3 separate regions of the Homo sapiens genome follow, and regions 2 and 3 are each linked to region 1. The links are contacts of gene promoters, found by promoter capture Hi-C in human tissues and cell types (Jung and others, 2019). All regions are on one chromosome and are shown on one strand. Each heading gives the region's core, a stretch centred on a gene start or on the middle of the fragment in contact. The rest is flanking DNA. Distances are from core to core; before and after follow the strand shown.

The links. The method cuts DNA at HindIII sites, captures the fragments that hold promoters and counts their contacts. A contact is called where the count stands out against the background at its distance.
Region 2: a fragment that was not itself captured here is called in contact with the fragment with the promoter of MSS51 in region 1 in 3 of the 25 tissues and cell types used here (bladder, mesendoderm cells and thymus).
Region 3: a contact is called between a fragment that was not itself captured here and the fragment with the promoter of MSS51 in region 1, in 2 of the 25 tissues and cell types used here (liver and mesenchymal stem cells).

The regions. Positions count from the first base shown.
Region 1 is chr10:73,431,059-73,436,210 of GRCh38, forward strand. MSS51 (MSS51 mitochondrial translational activator) reads right to left here and starts at 2,503. Exons shown (of 7, transcript NM_001024593.2): 1 at 2,455-2,503. The HindIII fragment of the contact is 24,221 bases long and covers 1-5,152 here.
Region 2 is chr10:73,306,525-73,311,676 of GRCh38, forward strand. It overlaps CFAP70 (cilia and flagella associated protein 70), which reads right to left. Exons shown (of 28, transcript NM_001367801.1): 13 at 3,634-3,725. Among named protein-coding and RNA genes, the nearest start is that of CFAP70, 50 kb to the right of the region's middle. The HindIII fragment of the contact is 3,629 bases long and covers 510-4,138 here.
Region 3 is chr10:73,351,684-73,356,835 of GRCh38, forward strand. It overlaps CFAP70 (cilia and flagella associated protein 70), which reads right to left. Exons shown (of 28, transcript NM_001367801.1): 2 at 3,051-3,152; 3 at 1,873-2,059. The coding sequence starts at 3,113. Among named protein-coding and RNA genes, the nearest start is that of CFAP70, 4.6 kb to the right of the region's middle. The HindIII fragment of the contact is 5,225 bases long and covers 480-5,152 here.

The DNA of each region.
Region 1 (5,152 bases), core at 1,253-3,752:
CTATGAAATATCCAGAATAGGTAAACCCAGAGACAGAAAGCAGATTGGTAGTTGCTAAGGGCTGGGTGGAAGGGAAAATGGGGAGTAACTGCTTAATGGTTATGGGGTCTTCTTTTGGGGTGATAAAAATGTTTTGGAACAAGACAAAATTGATGGTTGAACAATACCGTGAATACACTAAATGCCATTTAATTGCTCACTTTAAAATTATTAATTTTATGTTATATGATTTTCACTTCGATTAAAAAAGAAAGGAAGGAAGGTATTCATAGAGATTGAGAGGCTAAAAAGTTATTAATCCCCAGATTGTCTTCAGGTACAGAGAAATAACAGAGGATTAAAAACGCTGGCAGTGTGAATGAGGAAACTGTTAAAGTTCAAACCAGGGATCATGTTTTGTTACAAAAATGATCTGACATTTGATCCTTCTAGATCAGATCTGTTAGGAAAAACCTCAGAATCATCATGCAGCTGAGGTGTATGCAGGTGGCAAAAATAAACAAAAAGCTCCCAGAATTATCCAGCTCATATCCATATCTTACAACATGACTCTTAAAAACCTGTCCTCAGGTTAATGGAGGAACAAATTTGTATTTTCCTTTGTACTTTCTATCTCCTCATCCTTATGTTTCCATCCACCCTCTTAATGTCTCCCCTTATCCCATGGGTGAATGGATGGTTTCAGTCCACAGAACAGAAATAGTCAAGCTCATCTGTATACCATATCCTATATATTACCTTCAATGAAGAAATTGGACCTAATGATATTAGATTATCTTAGGGTTTAAGGGTCATGTCCTTTTACCAAAAGAGTAAATGGAATTGCCCTTCACACTTTAGGGCCCAATTTCCAACAACTAACCTCATTCTGTCCTCCACTTTTAATCACCTCACATTCTCATTGCATTTTCAGAATCACTGCCATTCTACAAAAAGCATTTATCTACTCTACCCACCTGCCTCAGGCAAGATAACATTTTCTTTTTCTTTCTTTCTTTGAGACAGAGTCTCACTCTGTCACCCAGGCTGGAGTGCAGTGGTGCGATCTTGGCTCACTGCAACCTCCACCTCCCGGGTTCAAGTGATTCTCCTGCCTCAGCCTCCTGAGTAGCTGGGATTACAGGCTCGCGCCACCATGCCCAGCTAATTTTTGTATTTTTAGTAGAGATGGGGTTTCACCATGTTGGTCAGGCTGGTCTCGAACTCCTGACCTCGTGATCCACCCACCTCGACCTCCCAAAGTGCTGGGATTACAGGCATGAGCCACGGCGCCCGGCCAAGACACCACTTTCTTAAACCTTGAAAGAATGACTTTTTTTTTTTTAAATAGGTATGGAAGGAAAGTGTGATTTGAGACAACTCTAGGGTCTTAAATCCCAGAATTTATAATAGATATCTCCCTGAAGTTAAAACATAAGCCTTTTTGCTGCAATGGAAGCAAGCCACTTAAGGTCAGAAAGGTACTGCTTTACTTTTCCGCATTTCCAAGGTGAGGTCTTCCTCTAAAGGAAGATTAGCTCTTGGCAATCTGGGAGTTGGCTGAACTGGTCAGAAAGCAAAAGGATCACACAGTTTGAGGAAGAGGAGTGGTGGTAAAAATCCCTAATGTCACAGTCTCCTCTGTGTCTAGAGCACAATGTTCATGATACAAATGAGTTAGCTTTCTGGCAGAAAAGAAAGAAGGTGGGTGAGAAGCCAGGTCTTTGATCTGCATCTATATACATCATCAGGTTCATGTTTGAGTTTATATACCCCAGGCCCAGACACAGCTTCCCTGGTTCTAAATCTCCTGTAAAGAGCCCCAGGCTACTCCCTGTTCACAGGTTATAAACTGAGAGAAACAAAGGAAAAAACAGGGGACTCACAGGAGAAGCTGGAAAGAATTGCAGTAAGCTCTTTGAACTTTCCAGAGTCTAGAATGCTCTCCACTTAGAAAGGGAATCCCTTTCATTTTTTTCTAGCCATCCCCAGTGACTTAGGCTCTAATTTAGTCCCAGTATAAGAGAGAGAACACCAACACCAAGAACTGGAGAGGAGACATGATCTTGATTGCCTAGAAAAACTTTTATCCTTCATGTCCAAATTCAAGACAAAATATTAATCTATTCCTAGACCTAGGTTTCCCATCTTCTTCTTTACCACCAAGAGTCCCAAGTTTCACCTAAACTACAGTCATATTTTCACTATCTCCAGATAAGGAGTGCTCATCTAATTTTCTGTAAGTCACCAAAAAATGCAAAACGTCTTTGGAGAGGTAGGGAGAAGGAAGACTGAAACTGGTCATTGGAGATCCTTATAAGGGGGTAGGAAAAGAGAAGGAGAAATACATTAAGGACACTGTAATTATGGCCACATTCAGCTGTTTAATCAGTGATTAACACTGCCTGGGGTGATAAATACTTTACTCAATTATAAACTAAGCAAGCAGACAGGTTGACGGAAAAAAAAACTTACCCTGCTAAGTCCTCAGCTTCCTTCCTTCTCTCTTTCCTCCAAGTGAAATGAGTGCTTGATCTCTTCAGATCTAGGTTGTGGCTTACTTGCAGCTGTCCCTTCATATCACTTTCCTTTGCAAACTGCTGAAATGCTGAGTCTCAGTGATTAAGTGTGCCCTGCCAACCAGACAGACAAGGCTGAATTCTCCCTAATGAGGCAAAGAGGGATCTGTCCCCCTGCCTGAGGGCTTCTCTCTAACCTTTGTTCTCTGCCAAGGGGGCTCAGGACTGTCAACACTCCCAAGTGTTAGCCAAGTAAAGGCCAGGCAGGCTGACAAAAAATGAAACCTGCTGCTTCCTAGACTTCTCTCACTCAAGGCAATATTTCTGTTCTCAGTTTACAGCTTCAGAAGAAAACCCTTTGGATTAGTGCAGAAGTCAATATTTGATTGGAAAGGGTAAGCACCTTTCCAACCAAGTGGGAGGAACCAGAGGACCCTCTGGAGTTCTGTTTGTTGATCTAGACACAGGATGAGTTCCCCCAGGCCTGGTGTCCTTTTTCAGCATAACAAACATTGTTCAAACAAAACTCAACAATGTCCAATCTTGGATTAAGTAGAAGGGAGAAAATAAATGGCCATTTAATGGTACAGAATGAAATCAGTTGTAGGGGAAACATGCAGAATTAACTTGTAAAATTCACTTTCCCTGAAAGAAGGGTAAGATAACTCTCTGAGTGAGAGAGTCATCAGGAGCACTTTACCTGTATTAAGAGAGGAATAAATGCTTCTGGGATATTAAACAAAACCAAAATACTAGTTAATGACTAAAAATACATACTATTTCTAGGAAAAGAAAATAGAAAAGAATCAGCTCAACCATTCTCTTATCCTCCTTGTAATTGCAGCTGATCCAGGAAATTCAATTCCACAGTCCTAGCTTCTTTCTACTTACAGCTAGCCTATCTGAAGTTGTTAGGGCAGTGGTCCTAAAAGACTGCAAGATCTTTCTTACCCTCAAAAAATTTTTTTAAAATTTTTAAATAAAAAAGTTCTGACTTTCTGCTTATATCTGACCCCAGCTCTCACTTACCTGCTTCTTTGAACATCATCAAACTGGGGAACAGAATCACTCGCAATGAGGTCCCGGAATGTGGCAAATCAAATCCACACAGGAACCCCAAACTGTAAAAAGTACAAACTACATGCAGGGAAGGTGGAAGAAAAGTGTTAAGGATTCAACCAAACACTGCATAACATTATGTAGAATAGCTGTGGATAAAGGAAAATCAGTTGCAATAGGCAAAAACCCTAAATAAAATAGGGGTAATTCACTTTGTGCAAAAGTTTCAGGCCAACTTCAAATTTAACAGGCTTCAAAATTTATCTGAGAACCTCAAATGTTTTGAGTTCTGTTAATAATGGCTGAACTGCAGAAGATACAAGACATCAGAGATTGACTTTTCTAATTCAGAAGTTGTCAATGAATATAAAGGAGAATAGTAATATAGAAAAACTTTGATGTTGAATACTTATATTTTACTATCACTATGACTTGCTCTGGTAAACATTTAAAGTTACGAAGTCTGAACTTTTCACAATTTGTATTCATCATGAGTTGCATTTAAAAAATCTTAATAAATGGTATGCTGTGAAATGAATTATGAAGAAAGACTAGAAAGAGGTTCCTATTCAACATGTAGGAAGTGGTCTGTGAGGCACTATGTGATACTTTATCACTCTTCAGGTATTTTGCTTTTCCTGAGTTTGGTTCCTTTCTCTTATTTTCCTCTTAATTTTTACCATCAATCCATAGTTTTTTTGCTAATACTACTTAATGCTCACCCATGATTCCCACAAACACTATATAATGCTAGTTATGTACCTAAGGGCTAGGAAAGTTCCTGGCACCTAATATACTAGTTAAACTCTTACTTACTTTTTAATTTTTCTATTGGGTCTATTTTAGCCAGATAAACTCTTTACTGAATAGCTTTCATAAAACAACATCGACAACAATCTTTAAGGTATGCAACTTTCATAAACAACATAGACAACAATCTTTAAGGTATGCAATGCATAATAACTTTAGAGCCAACTCATGGACTGCTTTGTAAGTTAATATTTTGGCAAGCAGAGAGTTATAATAATTAACAATTTGTGGCCGGGTGCAGTGGCTGACGCCTGAAATCCCAGCACTTTGGGAGGCTGAGGTGGGCGGATCACGAGGTCAGGAGTTTGAGACCAGCCTGGCCAACATGGTGAAACCCCATCTCTACTAAAAATACAAAAATTAGCCAGGCGTGGTGGTGGGCACCTGTAGTCCCAGGTACTTGGGAGGCCGAGGCAGGAGAATTGCTTGAACCCAGGAGGCGGAGGTTGCAGTGAGCCAAGAGCATGCCACTGCATTCCAGCCTGGGTGACAGACAGAGATTCCGTCTCAAAAAAAAAAAAAAAAAAGCAAAAGAAAAAGAAAAAAGAAACAATTTGAGAAGTTCTGTTTGTTACCTGGAATTAGGCAAGCATGTGTGTGTGTGTGTGTGTGTGTGTGTGTGTGTGTGTGTGTGTGTGCGCTTGCCTAATATATTTACATATATTTTGTTTGTTTTTAAGGGATGGGGTCTCACTCTGTCACCCAGGCTGGAGTACAGTGGTACAATCATAGCTCAACACAGCCTGCAACCATGAGCTCCTAGGCTCAAGCAATCCTCTGTCTCA
Region 2 (5,152 bases), core at 1,074-3,573, 120 kb before region 1:
CAGAAGTCACTGAGATGACATATTTAAAGTCTGAAAGAAAAAAAAATTGACAACTAAGAATTCTATATCCAGGTGTCTCATGCCTATAATCCCAGCACTTTGGGAGGCTGAGGAGGGATGACCACTTGAGGCCAAGAGATTGAGACCAGCCTGGGAAACATAGTGGGACTATGTCTCTACAAAAATTACAGAAAAAAAAGGTAAAAGAATTCTATATCTAGTAAATTATCCTTCAAAAGTGAAGAAGACATTAAGACAATCCCAGATAAACAAAATTAAGACAGTTTGATAACAGGACCTACCTCATAAGGAACGCTAAAGGGAGTCCTTCAGGCTGAAATGACAGGACACTAGTCAGTAACTTGAAGTCAGATGAAGGAATAAAGAACACTAGTAAAGGTAAATATGAAAGCCAGTATTATTGCACTTTCAACTTGTAACTCCTCTTTCTCTCCTCTTTTTTTTGATGACAAATGCATAAAATAATAATGATAAGTCTATGTTAGTAGGCACACAATAGATAAATATGTAATCTGTGACAATAACAATGTAACGGGAGGGATGGAGATGTATAGGAGCAGAGTGTATAGTACTGAAATTAAGTTTGTATTCAAACTAAGCTGTTACAGGTTTAAGGTGCTAATTGTTGTCTCCAAGTTAATTACTAAGACAACAACTAAAAAAATACACAGAAAAGGAAAGAAGAGGGAAATCCAAATGGCATACTGCAAAAAATCAGCTAAATATAAAAAGGCAGCAATAAAGGAACTGAAGAACAAAAAAAAATAAGACATGAAGACAACAAACAGATAAATGGCAGAAGTAAATCCTTCTCTATCAGTAATCACATTAAATGTAAATGGATTAAACTTTCCTATTAAAAAGCAGACACTGGCAGATTAGATTAGAAAAACTCACACAGAATCCATCTATCTGCTGTCTACAAGATACTCCCTTTAGATGTAAGGACAGGAGGAAGTCAAAGGTAGGATAAAATCAGATATTCCATACAAATAGTAAAAAAGAGCTGAGATGGCTATATTACTGTCAGACAAAATAAACTTCAAATAAAAAGAGGGTACAAGAGACAAATAAGGACATTAAATATTGATAAAAGGTTAAATACAGCAATAAAATACAACATTTATAAACATATACAACAGAACCCCATACAACATTTATAAACATATACAACAGAACCCCAAAATTTATAAAGCAAAAACTGATAGAATTGAAGGGAGAAACTGATAGTCCTACAATAATAGAGACTTCAATACTCTACTTTCAATAATGGATAAAACAACCAGACAGGAAATTAGTAAAAAAATAAAGGATTTGGGCCGGGCATGGTGGTTCATGCCTGTAATCCTAGCACTTTGGGAGGCTGAGGCGGGCAGATTGCCTGAGCTCAGGAGTTCAAGACCAGCCTGGGCAACACAGTGAAACTCCATCTCTACTAAAATACAAAAAAAAAAAAAAAAAATGCTGGGTGCAGCGATGTGCTCCTATAGTCCCAGCTACTTGGGAGGCTGAGGCAGGAGAATTGCTTGAACCCGGGAGGCAGAGGTTGCGGTGAGCCAAGATCATGCCACTGCACTCCAGCCTGGGTGACAGAGCGAGACTCTATCTAAAAAAGAAAGAAAGAAAGAAAGGATTTGAACAACCCTATAAACCAATTAGACCTAACAGACATATATAGAACATTCCACCCAATAACAACAGATAACACATTCTTCTCAAGTGCACATAGAACATTCTGCAGGGTATACCGTATGTCAGGCCACAAAACAAGGATCAATAAACTTTAAAAGATTGAAATCATGGCTGAGCATGATGGCTCATGCCTGTAATCCCAGCAATTTGGGAGGCCGAAGCGGGCAGATCACCTGAGGTCAGGAGTTCGAGACCAGCCTGAGCAACATGGAGAAACCCCGTCTCTATTAAAAATACAAAATTAGCCAGGTGTGATGGCACATGCCTGTAATCCTAGCTACTCAGGAGGCTGAGGCAGGAGAATCACTTGAACCCAGGAGGCAGAGGTTGCCATGAGCTGAGATCACACCATTGCACTCCAGCTTGGGCAACAAGAGTGAAACTCCGTCTCAAAAAAAAAAAAAAAAAGATTGAAATCATATGAAGCATATTTTCTGATCACAAGGAAATAGAACTAAAACCCAGTAACAGAAGACTTAAAATTAAGAAAATAAGAATATTAAATAACTGAAATAAGAAAATTTAAGCAACACATTCAACCAATGGTTCAAAGAAGAAATCACAAGAGAAATGAAAAAAAAAAAAAAACCTTTAGACAAATGAAAACAAAAACCAAATAAAAAATTATGAAATGCAGTGAAAGCAGTGCTCAGAGGGAAATATATAGTTCTCTACACATACACTAAAGAAGAAGAAAACTCAAAATCAATAACATAACTGTATTCTTTAAGGAACTAGCAAAAGGGGGGCACACTATGCCCAAAGCTAGCAGAAGACATAATAAAAGAAAGAATGAAGATTAGAGTAAAAACAAATTAGAGAATAGAAAAATAATGGAGAAAATCAATAAGCTTTAAAAGTTGGTTTTTCAAAAAGATCAACAAGATTGACAAACTTTTAGCAAGACTGACTGAAAAAAGAGAGAAGACATGAAAGTGGAAACATTACTACCAATTTTAGAGGGATAAAAAGGAGTATTAGAATACTATGAACAATTGTATGCGAACAAGTTGAATAACCCAGATGAATGCACAGTTTCCTAGTAGCACACAAGCAAAGCACTATGGTACAATATAAACAGTTTTTTTAAATTACATATATGTATATGTAACATGCGTGTGTGTGTTTATGTGTGTATGTGTAATATAGGGGGCTTTAAAATAACTCCAGAAGGATAACAACACCAAGGTGTTAAAAGCAGTTATCACTAGGTGAGTAGAGATCTGGATGTTTTTATTTTTTAATTTTTTATAGAGATGGGGTCTCACTATGTTGCCCAAGCTGGTCTCAAACCTCTGGGCTCAAGTGATCCTCTCGCCTTGGCCTTTCAAAGTGCTGGGATTCAAAGTGCTGGAATGAGCTACCACACCTGACCTTGGGTATTTTTATATACTTTCTTGTTCATCCGTATTTCCTAAGAATTTTTTTTTTTTTTTAGAGATAGAGTCTTTCTCTGTCTCTCAGGCCGGAGTGCAGTGGTGCGATCTCGGCTCACTGCAACCTCCGCCTCCCAGGTTCAAGCAATTCTCCTGCCTCAGCCTCCCGAGTAGCTGAGGTTACAGGTGCATGCCGCCATGCCCGGCTAATTTTTTGTATTTTAGTAGAGACGGGGTTTCACCGTGTTGCCCAGGCTGGTCTCAAACTCCTGAGCTCAGGCAATCCCCCCCACCTTGGCCTCCCAAACTGCTAGGATTACAGGCATGAGCCACCGCACCCAGCTTCCTAAAAATTTTTATAGTGAGCATGCAATGCTTTTGTGATAAGGTAACAAAAATAACAACAACAACAAAAACTTCATCTAGAAAAAAACCAGATAACTCCTGCTTAGCCCAAGGGAAATTACAATCGTGGGGACAATCTGACTTCCTCTTATTTATACCCAAATTGTACAAAACTAGTATAAGCACCATAGCTACAAACCTTCTGGCTAGCTCCTCTGGCATTCGCTTTGGAACCAAGGCTTTGTCCAGCTGAATTTCCAACACAATGTATGTCCCTGCTTCTACATATTGCTGTAAAGACATTGTTTTCTTATTATTTCCAGAAAAAAATATATTTATGAAAAATTTAGTAACATAAGATGATGCTCACAATATAATAAGTGAGAAAACTGCATATATAACTACATATACAGTGTGATCTCAACTGTTAAAATACTTTTCACATAGAAAAATAACTGGAAAGAAATATAGCAACAGTGGTTATCTCTTAGAGGAAAGGATTTTCAGTTTTATTCTTGGAAGCTTCTACAGTGTAACAAGGCTGAAGCCCTGTTTAACTTGTTCTCAATACTTTCCCAGGAACTGTTTTAAGTGAATGCCTTTCTTTCTTCCAGCAACCTTCTTTCAGGTGGTCCTGCAGAAAAATTCTCTTCATAACCTTCTTACATTCCCACTCACAGTCTCCTCACTACCATCTACCAACTCCAAGTGCTGGACAGCTCTACCCAGATTTTTGCCAGCATCCTAAATACATGTCCAAAATTGAATTTATTATTTCCCCAATGTCAATCTCTCTTGATTTTTCTCTTAATGGTGTTGTCATCCTTCCAGAAAGTGAGGCTTGCAACCTGAGTTATCCTTAACTTTTCTCATCAATACCCCCAAAGCTTCCCAATTGCAAACTCCTTGCCTCTCCAGGTTTCTGACTTTCTTTACTACAACCCCTGTCCTAAATAAAACTGTCATCAACACTCATCTATACTACAAGAAAAGCCTGCAGCCCTACCCCACCTTCAATCTCTTTTTTTCATACCCTTGCAAGAATTCCGACCTGAAACACACATGAGGTCTTATTTCTATGACTTTGAAACCTTTGATGTGAATCTCCAAGAAGAGGTTCAAGAATCTGTCATCAGCTATACAATGAAGTCCAAACTTTTAAATAAGCCTTTCAAGTCTTTCCATTACCTGATTCAGCCTCTTTCTTCTTTCCTAACTCTTTATAGAATCTCTCCTTTAATTTCTCTATATACCATACACTGCAATTAACTGAGACAGCCTAAATTCTGCTCTTGCAAATTCTCTGTTATTCTCTCTCAAGCTGTTCCCTGGCTCTGAAATGCCTCTCCCTCCATCTTCTTATGGCAAACAGGTCTCTTCATCTTTCACTACTTAGTATGGATATCACCTCCTCCATGAAGCCTTCCCTTAGACTTCCCCATCCTAATATTTGTCTCCTCAGAGCCCACACAGAACTTTTATTTGTACCTCTATTACAGCACTCATCAAAATTATATACTATGATTAGTTATATACCAGTCTGTTTCTCCTACCAGATGCTGAGTTTCCTGAAAGCAGATGAATAAATGCTGCAGATGATGCATCTTTACATCCCTTATAATGTTTAACATAGTAGAATTAACAAAAGATATAATATTTTAATGCTGGAAAGGACCTTAAAATTAACCTGGCACCAGTTCACTTTACAGAGTTTCAAC
Region 3 (5,152 bases), core at 1,842-4,341, 79 kb before region 1:
GCCTCCCAAAGTTCTGGGATTACAGGCTTGAGCCACTGTGCCCAGCCCATTATGTTTTTTAATTCAATTTGAGATCTTCCAGTTTTTGGAATGACTTATGGTTTTAAGTTGAAACCTGGACTTTTCCTATTGTTATGAATCTCTGGATCTTACTTACACCTTCTGTTTTCAGCTGGCTTTTTCCAACACCACCCCAAAAGGGGAAGGAAGGAGATGCTGCCTCATTACTGACAAGTTGGGGTGGAAGTCTAGGTTCCCTACTCAGCCTCCTCTGACACCTGATGGAGGCAGCTCCTCATTACTGCTGAGCAGGGGAATTGGAGTCCTGATTCCTTACTTGGTTTCCACTGATACCACAGTGGGTGTGGACTCATTACCCTTGGGTGATGGTGAAAGTTCTGACTCTAAACTAGGCCTCCTCTGACACCACTCCAGTGGGAAGTGAAGGGACACCTTGCTGCTGACAGTTTGGGATAGAAGTCCAAGATCCATGTGGTCTCCACTAACATTATGAGGGGTGGGAAGGGGACTCATTACTAGAGGGGATAAAAGCCCTGGTTCCCTACTTGGTCTTCTCTGACATCACTAGGGTAATGGAGAACCTCATTTTTGAGCTTTGTGAGAGTGGAAGTCTAGGCTCTCCACTCAGCTTGATTGAGGGTGGGGGTTTTTTTCCTACGGTGTTTGGCTGGAGTACGGGAATTACTGTCTAAAACTTTTCTGTCTTATTAGGCTGCCGCTTTCATAGTCTTTTGGCTAAACAGAGCAGACTTTTATCAGGCTTTCTTTCTTTTTTCTTTTTTTTGGTCTGTGCCCATTGGTGTCTCCAGGTTGCCACCTTCTTCAGCAAGAAGTATGGGATATATAAGGCAAAAAGAAAACCCAAAGAACTCACCACTGTGTCATTCCCCAGGTCCCAAGTTTCCTTCTCTCCACCTTTCAGAGTCTCTTATGTTTGTTTTATATATAATGTCCAGGGTTTGTAGTTGTACTCAGTGGGAGGAATAGAGAAAAGTACATCTATTCCATCTTCTCAAAAGTTCTGCTTTTAATCCTTTTTATTTCTAATTAATGCGCTTAAGATTATAAATGTACCTCTAAGTACACCTTTAACTATATCCCACAAATTCTGATATTTGGTGTTTTACTGTTGATCTCTTCCAAATGCTTTGCAATTTTTATTATGACTTTTTTATTTGTCCCATGAATGATTCATAAGTATGTTTTTAAATTTCCAAATAGCTTTTTGGCTTTTTGTTATTGATTTCTAATTTTGTTGATTGTTACATTTTGGCAGAAAAGGTGGTCTGTATGCTGTTGATCCTTTGATCTATGGTAGGACTTGCTTTATCGCTTAGAATGTGGCCAATTGCTATCATAAAAATGCTCCTCCTGTGTTTTAAAAATATATATATTCTTTAATGGTTAGTACAAGCCTATGATTATTCCTAGGGAAGACTTTTTTCTCTACCCAGGATCTAGACAGAGATGCTGATAAGCAGATTTTATTTTCCTGGTCCATACTTTCTGAGAGTCTTAACTTGTGATGGGGAGGTGATCTCAGTCTCTATTCCCCCATCAACAACAGCCAAAGGTTTTCTGTCCTTGTGAGAGCATTAAAACCCAAGCCCCTAGGTTTTGGAGTACTGCCTTCTCCCTGCACACTTCCACTAACACATACACACCAATGGCAGCTGTTCAAGATTTTCACGTTTCAGTTCCTGCCTTGCTTCTGGGAACAAAGGAACTGTCCTTTCTTTCTCATGATTTTAGTTACATGTTTAAAAGAATGTTTTGGTTGTGCTTTTCCCATCCAACATGATAGGGAAGAAGGCAATCGGGACATTGATTTTTAGAACCACAAGGACTTACAGAACACAGGTTTGTGAGCGAGGTCATCTGAAGTGATTCCTCCTTCAGGATTAAACTCAAAACTGCTAGTGAAGTTGTATTTTGCACTTCCTTCTGGAGAAACAGTAATTTTTGCAGAGTCTCCCAGAACCACTTGATTGAATTCTGCTCGAATAAAGGTAACTGGAGTATCTCCTTTAAAACCTTTCTGTTGGCAGAAACACACCACTTTACAATTATATTCAAATAGAGAATTTTCCCACACATCTGGTAACCCATTTTGATTTGGGCTAAATAGCATTTTTCATTTTTTCCTAACGAGCAACATCACAAATACAAAAGGAATAGGTAGAAAAATCATTAAACAAATCTAGTTTTACTTAAATGCAACATTCCATTGAAGTGCTGTTATGTTGGAGTCTTGAAAATAACATTTATTGTGTTTCACCTAATAATAAAAGTATACTGTGGAACATTTTTTTTTCTGTTTGTTTGTTTGTTTTGAGACGGAGTCTCGCTCTGTCACCCAGGCTGGAGTGCAGTGGCGCGATCTCAGCTCACTGCAAGCTACTGAGGAACATTTTTAAAAGTAAGAAAATTAATTACCTACAATCTTACTGTAACATGCAAGCATTATTAATATTTTAGAATATATTTTCTAGTGTTCTGCTGTGAATATATGGATGTACGTGTGTGTACCCATACATGCACACATAGATACATTTTTATATATGCATTTTAAAACAAAGTGGAGCTCATTAATTACATCCTCTTTGGAATGATCTTTTTAAACTTAATATACTGAATATTTTCCCATTTCATCATATTCCTAATTTTTAGTACATCACATTGTTGTTGTTTTTTTAATTAATCAAATAGAATTAATCACAAGGGAAACTCTGGAAGAATTCAGATCCTTCTCAGGAGAAAGGGAAAAAAATTATACGTGAACTGCTGTCTAGGGAAACTAAAACCACTGTTTCTTTCATCCTGTTAAATTTAGTATTCAAATTGCCGGGTATTTGAGACACACAGTAATGTGACTTGGAGATTAAGACTAACAATAAGGAACACTGAGGCGGAATGCCACTGCTACATAAAGCCAGGAGGTTTGGAGGTAGAGAATGAAGCAAAATTCCATTCCTCCTGCAGGTACTCCCAAACTAAGGATTTTTGTAAATTTCCAAAAGTAACTTTACCAAATCATATCCCTCTGTCACGGTGATCTGCACGAGTCTGCCTGCTGATGGCACTTGCTCCATATCACCAACTGGGAAAAGTCCCTCTGTTTTCTTTGGTCTCTGTAAACAGAATGAATCAACCTGTCCCCTCATGTACCACAGCTGCACAAGTACCCATATTCCATCATAACCAATACCAGGGAAAACCTAAGGAAATGCCATAGTCCAGCACTGTTTTATTCCCCATATCCAACCTTTGCTGTTGGACAGGCAGTGCTTTAGGGAGCTGGTCACAAGGATGATTTCACTGGTAGCGCTAAAGATGTTTATACAGGTAACTAACCCATTAAGCACAAAGTATCACAAGACAAAGTAGGAACACCTTGACCTCCCATACCCTACATCAGGGGTCCCCACCCCGAACCATGAACCAGTACCAGCCCGTGGCCTGTCAGGAACTGGGCTGTACAGCAGGAGGTAAGCAGCAGGCGAGCAAGCAAAGCTTCATCTCTATTTACAGCCACTCTGCATCACCTGCATTACCACCTAAGCTCTCTCTCCTGTCAGATCAGTGGCAGCATTATATTCTCACAGGAGTGCGAACCCTATTGTAACTGATGCATGCAAAGGATCTAGGTTGTGCACTCCTTATAAGAATCGAATGCCTGATTTGTCACTGTCTCCCATCACCCCCAGATAGGACTGTCTAGCTGCAGGAAAACAAGCTCAGGGCTCCCACTGATTCTACATTATGGTGAGTTGTATAATATTTCATTATATAGGCTAGGCACGGTGGCTCACGCCTGTAATCCCAACACTTTGGAAGGCGAGGCGGGCGGATCACCAAGTCAGGAGTTCGAGATCAGCCTGTCCAATACGGTGAAACCCCATCTCTACTAAAAAATTCAAAAATTAGCCAGGTGTGATGGCACATGCCTGTAAGTCCCAGCTACTTGGGAGGCTGAGGCAGGAGAATCGCTTGAACACGGCAGGCAGAGGTTGCAGTGAGCTGAGATCACACCACTGAACTCCAGCCTGGGCAAAAGAGTGACTCCGTCTCAAAACAAAAAAATTTCATTATATATTACCGTGTAATACTAATAGAAATAAAGTGCACAGTAAATGTAATGTGGTTGAATCATCCCCGCTGCCCCCAGTCTGTGGAAAAATTGTCTTCCACGAAACTGGTCCCTGGTGCCAAAAAGGTTGGGGACTGCTGCCATACACTGTTCACAGTGTTCTCTGGTAACCGTTTTTTTTAATCTGCAAAGCTCCCTTCAAACATTATTTAACTTCTCAGTTTTACAAAAATATATTTTGAGAGCAGGAAAGAAGCAGCCACACAAAATGGTAGTCCACTGGAAAAGGTCTTAATGTATTTCTTATTTAGTCAGATATACTGTCAATTTTACAATACTAAGGGCACAAACAATTTCGATAATAAATTGGATATTTGTTTTTTGGAAAAGGTCTTTTATCTCTCCTTCCTTCCTTTTTTTTTTTTTCAGGCTCTCATTCTGTCACCCAGGCTGGAGTGCAGTGGTGTGATCACAGCTCACTGCAGCTTCAACCTCCCAGGCTCAAGTGATTGTCCCACCTCAGCCTCCTGAGTAGCTGGGACTACAGGCATGCGCCACCACGCCCAGCTAATTTTTGTATTTTTTGTAGAGACAGGGTTTCACCATGCTGTCTAGGCTGGTCTCGACGGCTAGGCTCAAGCAATCCACTCACCTCAGCCTCCCAAAGTGCTGGGATTAAAAGGCATGAGCCACTGTGCCTGTTGAAAAGGCCTTATTTTCTAACTCAATTCAAACATTTACTGAGGACATACTATGCTAAGTGTACTTGGTGATACAAAAGAGAAAACAACATCTTACAGCCTTCAGACTTTATAATTATCCTGCCTCTTCTCAGCTACTCCAGCATTTTTCCAGTCACCTAAAAGTGTCAAATCATTTGTTCAACAACATATTTCTGGGCTCTTTAAGGGCTTTAGTGGCACTGACAACTTCTTTGTCAAATGTACATTTGAAATGCCCTTTTGTATCAGTCTTCTTTCCTTTTCAATAATATGGCATTAGGCCTTCATTACCCTTCTGCTAGACTGTAACAAAAGCCTC